Regions from separate parts of the Homo sapiens genome. Here region 1 is linked to region 2. Evidence: promoter capture Hi-C in 16 types of primary human blood cells and fetal thymus (Javierre and others, 2016). All regions are on one chromosome and are shown on one strand. Each heading gives the region's core, a stretch centred on a gene start or on the middle of the fragment in contact. The rest is flanking DNA. Distances are from core to core; before and after follow the strand shown.

Region 1 (7,143 bases), core at 4,644-7,143, 5.4 Mb before region 2:
ACTGATGAGAAACACCCCAACTAATCTCAAGAAAGGGTACTAAAACAATAAGTGTAGCTGGGGAGGAGGGGTATGACTGGTAGTGCTAATTATATTTGAGTTAATACTAAAAAAATTAACCCACTGGAAACTAAAATTTTCTAATAAAAGAAATCTCTAAGACAAGTATTCCAGAGAGGTATACTAACATGTAAAGACAAACAAACAAACAAAAAAGTAAGTTTTGGGTATTTCAGATATAAAGATGAGAGCCACTTCCATTTATTGTGCACTTCTGTGCATACTAAAAAGTAAAGACAACGGCAGGAACTAATAAGTGATTATAGCAGTGCTGTAGGATCCAAGGTTAATACAAAAAAGTCAGTCATTTTCTATATACCAGTAATGAACAAGTGGAATTTGAAATTAAAAACACAGTATTATTTACATTAACCCCCCCATGAAATCCTTAGGTGTACATTTAAGACAACATGTACAAGATCCATATGAGAAAAAGTACAAAACTGATGAAAGATATCACAAAAGAACTAAGTAAAGATGTTCCATGTTTGTGGGTAGAAAGACTCAATGTTGTCAAGATGTCAGTTCTTCCAAAATTAATCTATAAATTCAATGCAATCCCAATCAAAATACCAGCAAGTTATTTTGTGGACATTGACAAACTGATTTTTAAGTTTATATGGAGAGGCAAGAGACCCAGAATAGCCAACACGATATTGAAGAAGAACAAAGTTGGAAGACAGACACTACTGGATCTCAAGACATATAAAAAGCTACAGTAATCAGGACAGTGTGGTATTGACTAAAGGATGTACAAATGAATCAATGGAACATTATAAAGAAACCAGAATTAGACTCAAATAAATACAGTCAACTGATCTTTGACAAAGGAGCAAAGGCAACAAAATGAAGCGAAGACAGTCTTTTCAACAAATGTTGCTGCAACAACTGCATATCTACATGCAAAAACAACAAATAATCTAGACAAACCTTATACCCTTTACAAAATTAACTCAAAACTCACTGACCTAAATGAATCACCGACCTAAAAAAACCCACAAAACTATAAAACTCCTAATAGATAGCATAGCAGAAAACCTAGGTGATCATTTTTTAAAAGCACCACCAAAGGCATGATCCATGAAAAACAATTGATAAGCTGGACTTCATTATCACTAAAAATTTCTGCTCTGCAAAAGACACTGTTGAGAATAAGAAGACAAGCCACAGAGAAAATATTTGCCAAAGTAATATCAGATAAAAAATTGTTCTTCAAAATAAACAAAGAACTCTCAAAACTGAACAATAAAAACACAAATGACCCAACTAAAAAGTGGGCCAAAGACTCTGACACCTCACCAAATATGATACACATGACAAATACGCATATGAACAATGCTCAACATCATATGTCATCAAATAAATACAAATTAAATCAACACTGAGATACCACTACACACCTATTAGAATGGCCAACATCCAGAACACTGACACACCAAATGCTGGTGAGGATGTGAAGCAACAGAAACTCTCATTCATTGCTGGTGGGAATGCAAAATGGTATACCTATTTTGGAGGACCGTTTGGCCGTTTCTTACAAAACTGACCATACTTTTGCCCGTGCAATTCAGCAATCTTTCTCCTTGGTATTTACCCAAAGGAATTGAAAATTTTTGTACACATAAAAACCTGCACAGAGGAACAGAAAACCAAACACCGCATGTTCTCACTTATAAGTGAGAGCTGAATAATCAGAACACGGGGAGGGGAACCACACCGGGACCTGTAGGGAGATGGGGAGTGGGGAGGGAGAACATTAGGAAAAATAGCTAATGCATGCTGGGTTTAATACCTAGGTCAAGGGTTGATAGGTACAGCAAACCACCATGGCATACGTTTACCTTTGTAACAAACCTGCACATCCTGCACATGTACCCCAGAACTTAAAATAAAATTAAAAAAAACCCTACACAGAGATGTTTATTACAGCTTAATCATAATTGCCAAAACTTGGAAGCAAACAAGATGTCTTTCAGTAGGTGAGTGAATAAATACATCACAGTACATCCAGAAAAAAAAAAAAAATCAGTGTTAAAGAGAAAGAAGCTGTCAAGCCATGAAAAGATATGGAGAAAACTTAAATGCATATTACTAAGTGAAAGAAGCCAATCTGAAAAGAATACTGTATGGTTCCAACTATATGATGTTCTGGAAAAGGCAAAAGCATGGAGGCAGTAAAAAGATAATTGGATGCCAGGGATTGGGCAGGGATTAGAGGAGAGGAAGGCATGAATAGACAGAGGATAGAGGATTTTAGGGCAGTGAAATTACTCTGCATGATACTGTAATGGTGGATACACATCACTGTAAATTTATCAATCCTATAGAATGAATGTACAACACCAAGTGTGAACTCTAACGTAAACTAGGGACTGTGGGTTATAATGATGTGTCACTGTAGGTTCATCAGTTGTAACCAATGTACCACTCTGGTGGGAGATGTTAATAATGTGGGAGGCTATGTATGTGTGGGGCAGGGAGCTATTGGAAATTTTTGTACCTTTCTCTCAATTTTGCTGTGAACCTAAAACTACACTTAGTCTACTTTAAAAAATTAAAGGCATGCCAAAGCCAGGTTATGAAATCGTGGTATACATTTAACAAAGTTATGCTTTAAACATTTATAATACATTTTTAAATTCACAAGACAAAGGATTTATTTTAAAAGTCAATACTGGGGTTCTAGTAACGAGACATAAAGTTGAATGAACAGTGCCTTATTTTTTCAATCATATTACTGCATTTCTAACTACGTATAACTTCATTTGCAGATTATAGTCCAAATGAGAATCTTCCTCAGTGTGAAGCCTGTATTAGTTTCCTCTTGCTGCTATAATAAATTACCACAGATTTAGCAGCTTAAAACAACTCAAGTATGTTATCTTACAGTTCTGGATATCAGAAATCTGAAAATGGGGTGGCAGGGCTATATTATTCTGCAGGCTCTAAGAGAAAAACCTGTTTCCTTGCCTTTTCCAGCTTTTAGAGGTTGCCTACATTCCCACCCCTCTGCACTCTGATGGCTGCTTCCATCCTCATACCTCCTTCTCTAACTCTGACCTCTCTCCTATAAGGATGCCAGAGATTACACAGGGCCCACCTGGATAATCCAGGCTACTCCCCTCCATCTTGAGATCCTTCACTTAATCACATCTGCAATGTCTCTTTAGCAGTGTAAGGTAACATATTCATAGCTTCTGGAGATAAGAGCATGGGCATCTTTGGGGAGTCATTATTTTGCCTACTTGGAAGCTCAAAATGGAAACCACTCCAGGAACTTCCAACTCTGCATGCTCTGCCTCATGATTCAGTTGGGGTTTATTTTTTCTAAACTCTTCAAGTGATATCTTAGAATTGTTATTACCAATGGGTCCCAGAGGAGTTCACTTTTCAGGGTATGTACTTTCACATGCCTGATGCAGAGAAGATATTCTCATATTGTGGCTGCTATAACTTGGTATTAAGTAACAAGGAAGCTACATCTGTTACCCCAAAGTATGCAAAACATGGAACTAATTATATTTATATAAAAAGGACAGAGAGAAAAATGTTGCTTCATACTACGTATATGAATGAATACTTTAATGTGCCCTTTTTTCTCTACAAGTTGGTCTGCTAGACATTGTTAATATACAGTATATAAGATCTAAGGATCTAAGGATTCATGGAAGATCTAAATTGATATATCTGCTCTAAGAACAAAACTAAGATTCTAGTTAAAATTTGTCAATGTTTAATTATATAAAATTATTCTATAGCAATTAGTATAACAAGAGCTTTATTACTCTACTTTTCTTCACTCAAGATTAAGTAAAGGAAGAATACCTTTATAACAACTCCACCTTTAGATTAAAAAGGGAGGTTTAAAGATCAATATTAATAGAAATACTAATTCGATTTGCCTTCCTGCTCTCATAGATAGACTCATTTATTTATCCACCCAGTTAGTCAACAGATATTTAAATGCTTGATACAGGTGTGGTAGTGGCGCTATGAAGTCAAGTATTGTGCCAAACTTGTTTAATATAGTTGCTGCCTGGGCATCCATTTTTAGGCCTGATATAAGCTGTTTGAAACCCAGTTGTATCACGTCACCTGTGGCCTACTTAAAACTTCCCCTCCCTGTGATATAGAACACTTATTCCTCATTCCATGACCAAAAACCCAACAGCTGCTAACCATGATAAAACCCAATGGTCAACACCAGAGTCAAGTTCTCCCTTTGCTGGTGTTTTCTTTAAACTAGTCAATCCACAACCCCCTCTGGAAAGCCTAAGGGATAAAGCCTTTGGACCTTAACACAGCCCCACAGGTCCTCTCTCTTGCACCCCACCTGCTGGTTGGGAGTCCTGTTATCTCCAGACTTCCATCAGGCTTATTCTCTGGTGAATCTGTAAGTAATAAAATGCGCCTGTTATTTCACATGTTTTGTGTGCTGCCTCCTCTGGCGTCTCACCTGCACACCAGAACCTAGCTTTCCTCTCTGGGCCAGGGCTCTCCTGAAGAGTGGCTGTTCTGGCTTATGGCCACTCGTAAGAGAGAGACCTCGAGATCAAATTAGAAAGGAACGATAGCAATAAAAATTACAAGGAAGTATATTATGGCACCCACTTTTCAGTTAAGAAACCAACTAGCACAGGACCTAAATGCTAATTATAATAAAAGTAACAAAAGTGAAAGAATGCCTTCAATAAGACTAAACAAAAAGGAAAAGCAGAAAACATATTTTTATATGCTCTCAAGAAAACAGGTAAAAATAAAAATTGTAATACTACAACTAGATAACATTTCCAGTGTTTAAAAAGATTATTTTTTATTAATCATAAGCCACTGGATTAAGACTGAATTACTGATGATTATACACTTTAATGATCATTAATCTATTTAATCAGCAATTCATTCAATACATATTAAGCTTGTGTTACATTCCAGGAGCTGGGCACACACACACAACCCAAGCCAAAAGAAAAATGTTGCTGCTTGCATGGAGTTTACATTCCAGGGACCTAATACAATAGTGCTCTCCTCCAAATTCTCACTATACTTTCATGGTAAACCTCACCAGCAACAAGAGTACTAAATAAGGTAAGATATGCTTTAGGCCTGGAATTCTTCAACTTTGGCCTACTTCTGTATGAGGGCCTTAAGGCTCCTCTGCCATTAGTTGTGCAATCTTACATAAATTAACCATTTTAACGTCTTTTCCCCTTTGTAAAAAGGGAAATGGCAATAGTTGAGTTCTTCTGGGGACTAAATGACATAAGGTGTATCGATTGTTCAGCAATTAGTATTGCTTTGACCCTATGGTTCCAAAACATGCCTGCTCATCAGAATCACCCGAGGATCTTTAAAAACATTCCAAAGTCCGGTGCTCACCAGACCAATTAAATCCCAATCTCTGAGCGTGTCAGGACACGCTCCCCAGGTGGTTCCAAAGTGCAGACAAGTTTGAGAGCCACCACAGTTTGGATTATTGATGTGCCACAATAACACTTGCTAATCCATCTGTCTTTACCCCAGGTGGAACCAGGAAGCCTCCAGAGCTTAATGGAATTCAGATAATCGAGGTGCATACGCACCCTACGTCCCATCCTGTGACTTGAATCCCAATCTCTTCCGAAATTTTAAAGCAGGGAGGGATGGGACAGAGGCCTGACCTCTCCTGCATACTCATGGCCCTTGAGTATCTGCGATCTTTAGATATGTAGGGCGTTCTGACATTTCCACTTGCGGCGACAGCTGGGCCTGCCCGGGGGAAGCGCAGAGCGGGCAAGTCAGCCCTCCCGCAGGCGCTGGGACCGGGTGCGGAGGCCGCAGCCGAGCCGCGAGGGCAGATCGGCAGCCTCAGCTGCTGCCGTAGCTGTCGGGATCGTCCCCTGCGGGGCAGCAACAGCGGGGCTCCGACGGCTGAGGGGGGCGCCTTCTGCTTGCGCGCTCTGCGTCCCTCTCCGTGGTCTGCCCTTCGCCCCGCGACCCCGGCCGAGGGTGGGAGCAGCGCGGGGTCGCATCGGCCCGAGGCTAGCGGGGCTCGCCGTTCCGCCCGCAGCCATGGAGGCCGGGCCGCCGGGCAGCGCCAGGCCGGCGGAGCCGGGTCCTTGCCTGAGTGGTCAGCGCGGCGCGGACCACACGGCTTCCGCCTCCCTGCAGAGCGTGGCCGGGACCGAGCCCGGGCGCCACCCGCAAGCCGTGGCAGCTGTGTTGCCTGCCGGGGGGTGCGGGGAGAGGATGGGGGTCCCCACCCCGAAGCAATTCTGCCCCATCCTGGAGAGGCCGCTCATCAGCTACACCCTACAGGCCCTGGAGAGGTAATGCGGCGCCGGGCGCGCCCCGCGGTTCCCTGGGGCCCGGCCTCCCGCTCCCCGCCCTGCCGCTGCTCTAGCGCTAGCACCTTCACTTGGGGGACTGCCGGGCCGCGCTCAGTTATTCAAGCTTGAGCTCTGTTCCCTCCCGCATTTCAGAGATGGGAAGTTCTGGCCTTTAACAGATGGGCACGAAAGCTGCAGCTCCCCCACAGAGCCCTTTACGTCCCCAAGCAGATGAGGTTGTGGGGAAGGCCCGTCGTGTGGCGCCGATTAGAGAGTGCATGGGTTGGGACTAGGCGATTTGGGGTTCTAGCTGTGGGGCCTGAGGAGAAGCTGTGCGGATAGTCTCGCGGTCCTGGGGCTCTGCCTCCGCGCATGCGTGGATTGAGTTGTACGTGCACACTGAAGTTTCCAGGGCGTGTGTTCGTTTTTTTCATTCATTTACTGAGCACCTTCTGTGAGACAGGCTGCGCTAATTACTAGGTGCTGCAGGAGGGGAGAGGAGCAGAATTTAATAACCTTTCAATGGTGGAAAGGGCTTTAAGCCTGAATTTGAGGTCATACCCCCTTTATCTTAGAAAGGGCACTGAAGTTAACTAGTTGGGGAAATGAAGGAGACAGGGAATGGGATAAGGAGGACTAGGGGAACAGTCGTGAGGAGCTGAGGAAGTGAAATGAAGGGGTATGTTATAATATTAACTTACTTTGCTTTTAGCACTGAGTAATGAGGTGGAGCTTGGGGCGAGGGTGCAGGGGTGGGAAGCAGCGGCATTACAAATAT
Region 2 (6,838 bases), core at 2,494-4,993:
AACTATCTTCAGTTTCATAATTTTCTAAAGGTACAGGCTCGTAATCACTTGCCAATCTTATGGGTGGGTCATTCTTTACCAATGTTGATTTGTTTCTATTTTATGATAGAGTTAAATTATGTTTATCTGCAAATGTTTTCTATATTTATTCTTAAAACCAAACAGAAATATAAAAAGTTTTATAGTCAGAATTTCAGATTTCAAGATGAAGGTAAGAAGAAATTGATCCACGGAATCCAGTTAGCCAAAATTAAGGCCAACGAATCTAACCACTTTAATATTAAGTTCTAAGGAAGTCCGTAGTTCATTCAATGAGTCATTTCTAGAAGTTGTTTTGAAAGAAGATATGATCAGACAGATGTTTAGCTACCATTTCTCTACTTCCAATTTAATCTCCTATTCGTAAGTAGGGCTGGGAATCCACAACTTCAACATGTTTGGAAACCAGTGATAGGACTAATGTCTTATTCTCTACAAGACTCCAACTAAATATATACTATCTCAGGCACAGAAAAGATTCAAATGGAAAACAATGGTAATCTAGAGTAAGCGAATATCTCAGCTATGCAGAGCATCAATGCACCTAAAACAAGAGTCAAAAATATGATTCAATTTCTGTTGACTACTAATCATTTTAAATACAATCATTTTCTTCTAAATTCCCTTTTACAATAAATACCAAGAACTATACATACAAATTTGTGACCTGAGACCACAGATCACAAATTTAAGCTCCCCAGGGGGCCAGGAAGGTAAATTATGAGTGCAGCATACTAGATATTATATTACAAGAGGGAACAGAAAGTAAATATTTTTAGTGTGTTTAAGGGATATATAGATATATCAACCTAACAAAACTCATCCTATCATTTTTCACAAATAACAGTTCTCTTCAACTATAATTAGGATTTAACAAGGTCAGAAATCTCTACTTAGCTCGATATCATAAAATATTTTGAGAAAGTACTTTATGTTTGTATCAGATTGTTTTACCACTTGAAAAAGAAGTGATACCTGTGAATATTCCATCTCAATGAACAAACCTTGGAAACAAATTGTCCATAAAGTCAAGATTTATTGTCACATAATAATGTAATACTTAATGTAAGTTTTAGAATTGTTCCCATATTCAAAGAATTCGTAACTTCCACGACCCAACTATGTTTGTCAAAGTTTACAACCACAACCATAACAAACCAAAACTACATCCTAGCCAGGAATATTCTTATCTGCCAAGGTCTTTACCAAGAGAACTAAGATTTAAATTTTACCTCCTTTCCCTTCCCCTTCCCTTCTTTGGAAATACCAAATATCAGCAAACCAACTAAATGGGAGATAAAGAGCTGAGAAGCAAAGGATAAAAAAACAGTTAATCAAGATAAACTTATCAATTTTTGATTGCTGCGGATGAATTCAATTAGTAACCAAATAGTCAGTTTCTGTTTAAGATTCCGTCCATCAACTCTTGGGATCCAAGCAGATAAACAGACTAAATTCTGAAGTCAAATCCATTGGATCCGTTACTGCCTGAGTGACCTCATGCCAGTTCTTTAAACTCAATACCCCTGTTACCTGTAAAATGGTATCTCCTTCACTAAGTTACTGTGAAAATTAAGTGAGATTATGCAAACAAAAAGTTATCAGTAAATCACAATGCAAATTCTGCTGTTGATGCTACTAAAAGTAGCAACAGTAATATAATTTCGTTCATCCCTTCCTACTATCCCTAGCAGGAAAAAGACAAGGGAAAACCAGAAGAAGGAGAGATGTGACTAACCACGGCAAACTCTCTGGAAGTATATTTAAAAACTGTTGAAGAGATGAAACTGGAAAGGCTTTTACTTCTCATTTTATTTAAATTTTCATCTCACTTTATTAAAATTTTCAAAAGAGGTGGAATTACACATAATTTTCATTGTTCATGTTTATCAGTATTTTTCCCATAAAACATTTAAATTAAACATAATTTTTGTTTCTCAGATTCCTTCAATTGAAACTGTATATATACATAAGGTACACTGAACAGAAAATACAAAGGAAAATCATACTTTTCTGTTTTCCAGTTTAGTACAATGTGAATATACGACCTTTAAAAAAAGTTTTTAAAATTACTAAATATAGTGAGCAAGCATGCATGACTTATACTTCAGAGACATCTGAAAGGCCCAATCCACAAGGTCCAGCACCTACTATAATTTGAAGTGCAACTCTTACTCTGGTCAATTTTATTCTAGTAAAAGAGCTAATACACAAAAAAAGCAAAACTCCCCTAAGAGATTGTCAAGTGATCTGAAAAAAGAAGAACCCTGCTCAGGGACTATTAATGGTCCACACACCTCTCAGGATACTTTTCTACTTCGGGATATCTTTCAGTTTTTTCCTCTATAATATAAGCATAAATATATTTTAAGGTGTAAAACAGAGAAATCCTTTTGCATCTTTGGAAAAAGTCCTTCCCCTGACTGCTAATTATCTCTGAGGAAAACAGAAGCAATTATAGGTCTAGTGACAGGATCTAAAGGCAAAATGGGAAATCAAATGGACAAAATAAATGAAGTTTACGTGCTTTCACTTAAAATTGGCATTTTAATCAAAACCGATTTAAAAAGTCTAAAAATAAGCCTAACTCCAGAAAGCTGGGAAAGGGGAAGAGAGAAGGAAATATTTACCTGAGGCATCTCCAACTTTAAAATCACTGTCATCTGAACTATCATAATCAAGAGCTTCCAGCAGAGAAGCTGCCAAAGGCTTCACCTGCCTCCTCTTGGAGCTGCGATCCACTGTGAAGAGAAAAAAATTACATTGTCATTCATAATCACACCAAACACAGGGGAGAGTTGTGGTGCTAAGAGAACATAAAGATGACCTCGCACAAGGAATTTTTGTCTAACTGAGTTCTCAGCAAAAGGGGTCAGGAGAAGGTTGGGGTGCAGAAGCAGGGTGGGGAGGGCTGGACAGCTCCACGGGCAGTTTCAAAGGCAGCTCCAGCCCTGATGCTGCCAACGCCAACTCAGACCAGCTAAAATCGAAGCTGACCCTCTTGCTCATCTTTTCGAGATGTTTCTGCACCTTCCTCGTAATCCCCCACTTAGACATCGTAACAGTCAATAAAAACGGCAAAAATCAGGGAATAAAACAAGCGGGCTTCATTCCCGCGGACCATGGAGGGCGAGGGTCCACCAATCCTGCTTTCCCGCAGGACTCTCCCACCCCTGCCCTGCTCCCACCGGCCCTGACTTCTAGAATGGCTGAAATGGACCTCTCGCCGCAGAGGCCTCGGATACACTTACTAAGGAATCCGTGAGGTGGTCGTTTGGAGAAGACTTAGGGAGAGGCTGCAGGAGCCCAGGCAGCGCCGAGGTCGGGGACTGGGGCCGCGAAGACAAGTCCGAAAGATGCTATTTAAAACCGGCGCGCAGCCAGCCGGACAGGGGCGCTCCCAAGAGTAGCCCCGCGGTCCCCTAACCCCCCGCCCCCCCGGCCTCGCCTGGCCCTGGCCGCTCGAGCCCCTTCCCACAGCGCTCCCTGGCCGGAGAAGACCTCCGGCCCAGGCAGCGCAGTCAACCCGGCGGCCCCGGGGAGTTAATTTCTCCCGTTAAAACTAGAAGAAAAAAAATTAAAGAAAGAAAAACTTTATTAGCCTGGACCAGAAGCAACGAAAGACCAGAAATTGCACAGCGCGAGGGCGGCTGCCTCAGACAATAGGGAAAGCAGCGACCCGGATACAGCTCTGAAAAGGAAGTGAAAACACGAGGCTGAGCGCAGCCCTGAGAGCAGCAGGAATTGAGGGCGCATGCGCAGGACTCGCCCCCGCGCACCCTTCCCGAGCAGGAGCCGAACAGAGCCGAGTGAAAGCCCAGGGAGCCGCGCGGAGGCGAGCGGAGCCGAGTAGTGCCAAGGCGGAGCAGAGATCCCCGCCAAACCCTGTGCAATTCCGCCCATAAACCCCAAAGGCTCCGCCCTCTCCGCGCCTAATTCACCTCCTGAGTCCAAATCCCTGGGAGGCCAGTTTTTGTTTCTGATCTGTTTTTTAAGGATTTACTGAGTAAACGTTCCACAAAGGGATGTTTGCTACCTTAAGCCACTACCAATATTTAAATGATATTGTCACCGGTAGAGGATCGTGACTGCAAGTTGTCCAGGTTCTTGGCGTTTTTAACAAAGAATTGGACAAAACGCCCAGCAAAGCAAAGAAAGAATGAAGCAACAAAACAACAAAAGCAGGGACTTATTGAAAATTAAAGCACGCTCTGTACGGAAGCGACCTGAGCAGCGGCTCAAGGGCCCGGATACAGAATCTTGAGTCCAAATACCCTCTAGAAGCTTCCTATTGGCCACCTAATGCTCACCTCATGTAAATGAAGTAACGCGCAATCAGTCTGATTGGTTGCAGAAAGCAGCCAACCAGAGGCTGAAGTGAAGTTACAAAGGTCATGCTCCTGTGCAAACATTGGTGCAAAAAGCAATCAATCAGAGGCTAGGGTGAAGTTACAAAGTGGTATACCTCTATGCAAAGGAAGATTTCCCCTGCAATCAGTTTGATTTCTTGCAGATGGTGAAGTTACAAAGTGATACTTCTATGCAAAGGAAGACTCTCCTGCAATCAGTCTGATTTGCTGCCCACAGCCAATTTCCCATCTGCCCTGCAGAAAAAGTGGGGGTTTGCAAAGGGAGTAGCCTCTGGTCCTTTTGTTACTTAGGCATGGAAAGTTAGGGGTTTCCTTTCAATTTAGTTCTTAGGAAGTCGGAGTGACACATCCTTAGGTTCCCTGCCTCCACACCCTATTCTCCTGCCTCACTCTCACCCAAACTATCATTGCCATGTGACCTCTCAAACTTTTCTATTGTGCTATAGAAACTTCTATTCCAAAATGTATAACCTACTTAGTAAACATTTTTCCTTTTCAATGCCCATTCTTTTTACCTCCTCATCTGAAATAGAAACAGTTACCCTGCAGCCCTCTCAAATGAAAACCACTCATCCTTCCATACTTCATTTTCTCAAGGTGCAGAAGTGGCATCCCATGCTTAATACTCCTCATTGCCTTTCAGATATTTATTCTTCCAGTTAAAATCCTAGGAACTTGGTTATTTTAAAAACTCCACTCTGGGAATTTCACTTCCATTCTACTTTAAACACCAACCATATCATGGACTGATAGTCTTATCTATGAAATTATAAATCCAAATATTCCACTGTTTGACAATAGCCTTTTAGATTTATTTGGAGCAATTATGCTGAATCATCTAAAAGAGAAATTCAAAATCTGGCATTCGTGTTTATGTAAAACTAATTTCTAGAAGGAGATTTTCAGAATCAAAATGTATTAATTCATTTACTTTAATAAATAACACCTAGTTGCTCTAGAAAAACTGTACTGCCGGGTGCGGTGGCTCACGCCTGTAATCCCAACACTTTGGGAGGCTGAGGCGGGTGGATCACTTGAGGTTGGGAGTTCGAGACCAGCCTGCCCAACATGATGAAACCCCGTGTCTACTAAAAATACAAAAATTAGCTGGGCGTGGTGGCACATACCTGTAATTCCAGCTACTTGGGAGGCTGAGGCAGGAGAATCACTTGAACCTGGGAGGCAGAGGTTGCAGTGAGCAGAGATCACGCCACTGCATTCCAGCCTGGGTGACAAGAGTGAAACTCCGTCTCAAAAAAAAAAAAAAAAAAGTCTGTACTAATATATATACCACCAAGAGTGGATAAGAATTCTTTCTAGTTTTCCAAACCTGTGGCCATTGGATATCAGCAATCATTTTTTTTTAACTTTTAATTTTGAAGTAATTTCAGATTTACCAAAAAGTGCAATAATAATACTGAGTTTTTGTACATCCTTCACCTAGCTACCACTAATATCAGTATCTTATATAACCATAATACATTTATCAAAACTAAGAAACTAACATGAGTACAGTTTTGTTGACTAAACACTTTATTTATATTTCACTAATTTTCCTACTAATGTCCTTTTTTCTGTTCCAAGATCCAATCCAGAAGACAATATTGCATTTAGGTTATTAATCTTTTGCAATTCATGTATTGAAAGAAAGTAAGAGAAGGAAAGAAGGAGAAAAGGAGGGAAGGAAGAGAGGGAGGGAAAAAGGAAGAAGAAAAGTAGGGTAAAAAGAAAAGAAAAAAATTACCTAATTCCTTTTTTTGACCTGCATTCAATAAACATGGAAAGAACTGCTGGTTGTTTCCCAATACCCATTATCTCCTTTTTCTTCAAAAATGGAAGCTCCAAATTTTAACTGGGCATAAGTTTTCAAAGAATAAAGACATAATATACCAACTTTCTTGATGTTGCTTGGAGTTATGCAGTTAAGTTCTGGCCAATTGCATGTCAGCAGAAACAGTACGTGCAACTTCCAGGAAATGATATTAAATGAAGGGGCTTGAACTTTTCCCTCCCTTTTGTGAATGCTTGTTATTGCTTTTTCTTGCCTAATTGCTCTGCCTAGAACCTGCAGAACATTGTTGAATAAATGTGGTGAGGGAAAGACTTCTTTGTCTTGTTTCTGACTTTAGGAAGAAAACTTTCAGTCTTCCACTTAGTCTTATGTTATCTATAGTTTTTCAAAGATGCCCTTTTTCAGGTGGAGGAACTTTCCTGTTCCTAGTTTGCCAACTGTTTTTATCATGAAAGAGCTTCGAATTTTATTAAATACTCTTTCTCTGTCTATTGAGATGATCATGTGATTTTTGTACTTTATTTTTTCAATATAGTATATTACTATATTGCTTGATTTTTATTTGTTTAATCAACCTTGCACTTCTAGTATAAATTCTACTTAGTCATGTTGTATAAATCTTTTTATAGATGCTAGA

The links. Contacts are between HindIII fragments. The CHiCAGO score rates a contact against its expected background, and 5 or more counts as called.
Region 1: a contact is called between the fragment with the promoter of CRPPA here and the fragment with the promoter of PHF14 in region 2, in 2 of 17 cell types (activated CD4 T cells and total CD8 T cells). The highest score is 6.1, in activated CD4 T cells.

The regions. Positions count from the first base shown.
Region 1 is chr7:16,420,288-16,427,430 of GRCh38, reverse strand. CRPPA (CDP-L-ribitol pyrophosphorylase A) reads left to right here and starts at 5,893. Exons shown (of 10, transcript NM_001101426.4): 1 at 5,893-6,365. The coding sequence starts at 6,109. LOC105375168 (a long non-coding RNA gene) reads right to left here and starts at 6,745. Exons shown (of 5, transcript XR_007060223.1): 1 at 6,449-6,745; 2 at 4,394-4,451. RefSeq lists silencers at 6,083-6,222, 6,243-6,302. The HindIII fragment of the contact is 1,514 bases long and covers 4,978-6,491 here.
Region 2 is chr7:10,970,777-10,977,614 of GRCh38, reverse strand. It overlaps PHF14 (PHD finger protein 14), which reads right to left and starts at 3,743. Exons shown (of 18, transcript NM_001007157.2): 1 at 3,291-3,743; 2 at 2,670-2,780. The coding sequence starts at 3,291. RefSeq lists silencers at 2,899-2,948, 3,929-3,988, 4,499-4,548 and an enhancer at 3,679-3,973. The HindIII fragment of the contact is 4,357 bases long and covers 1-4,325 here.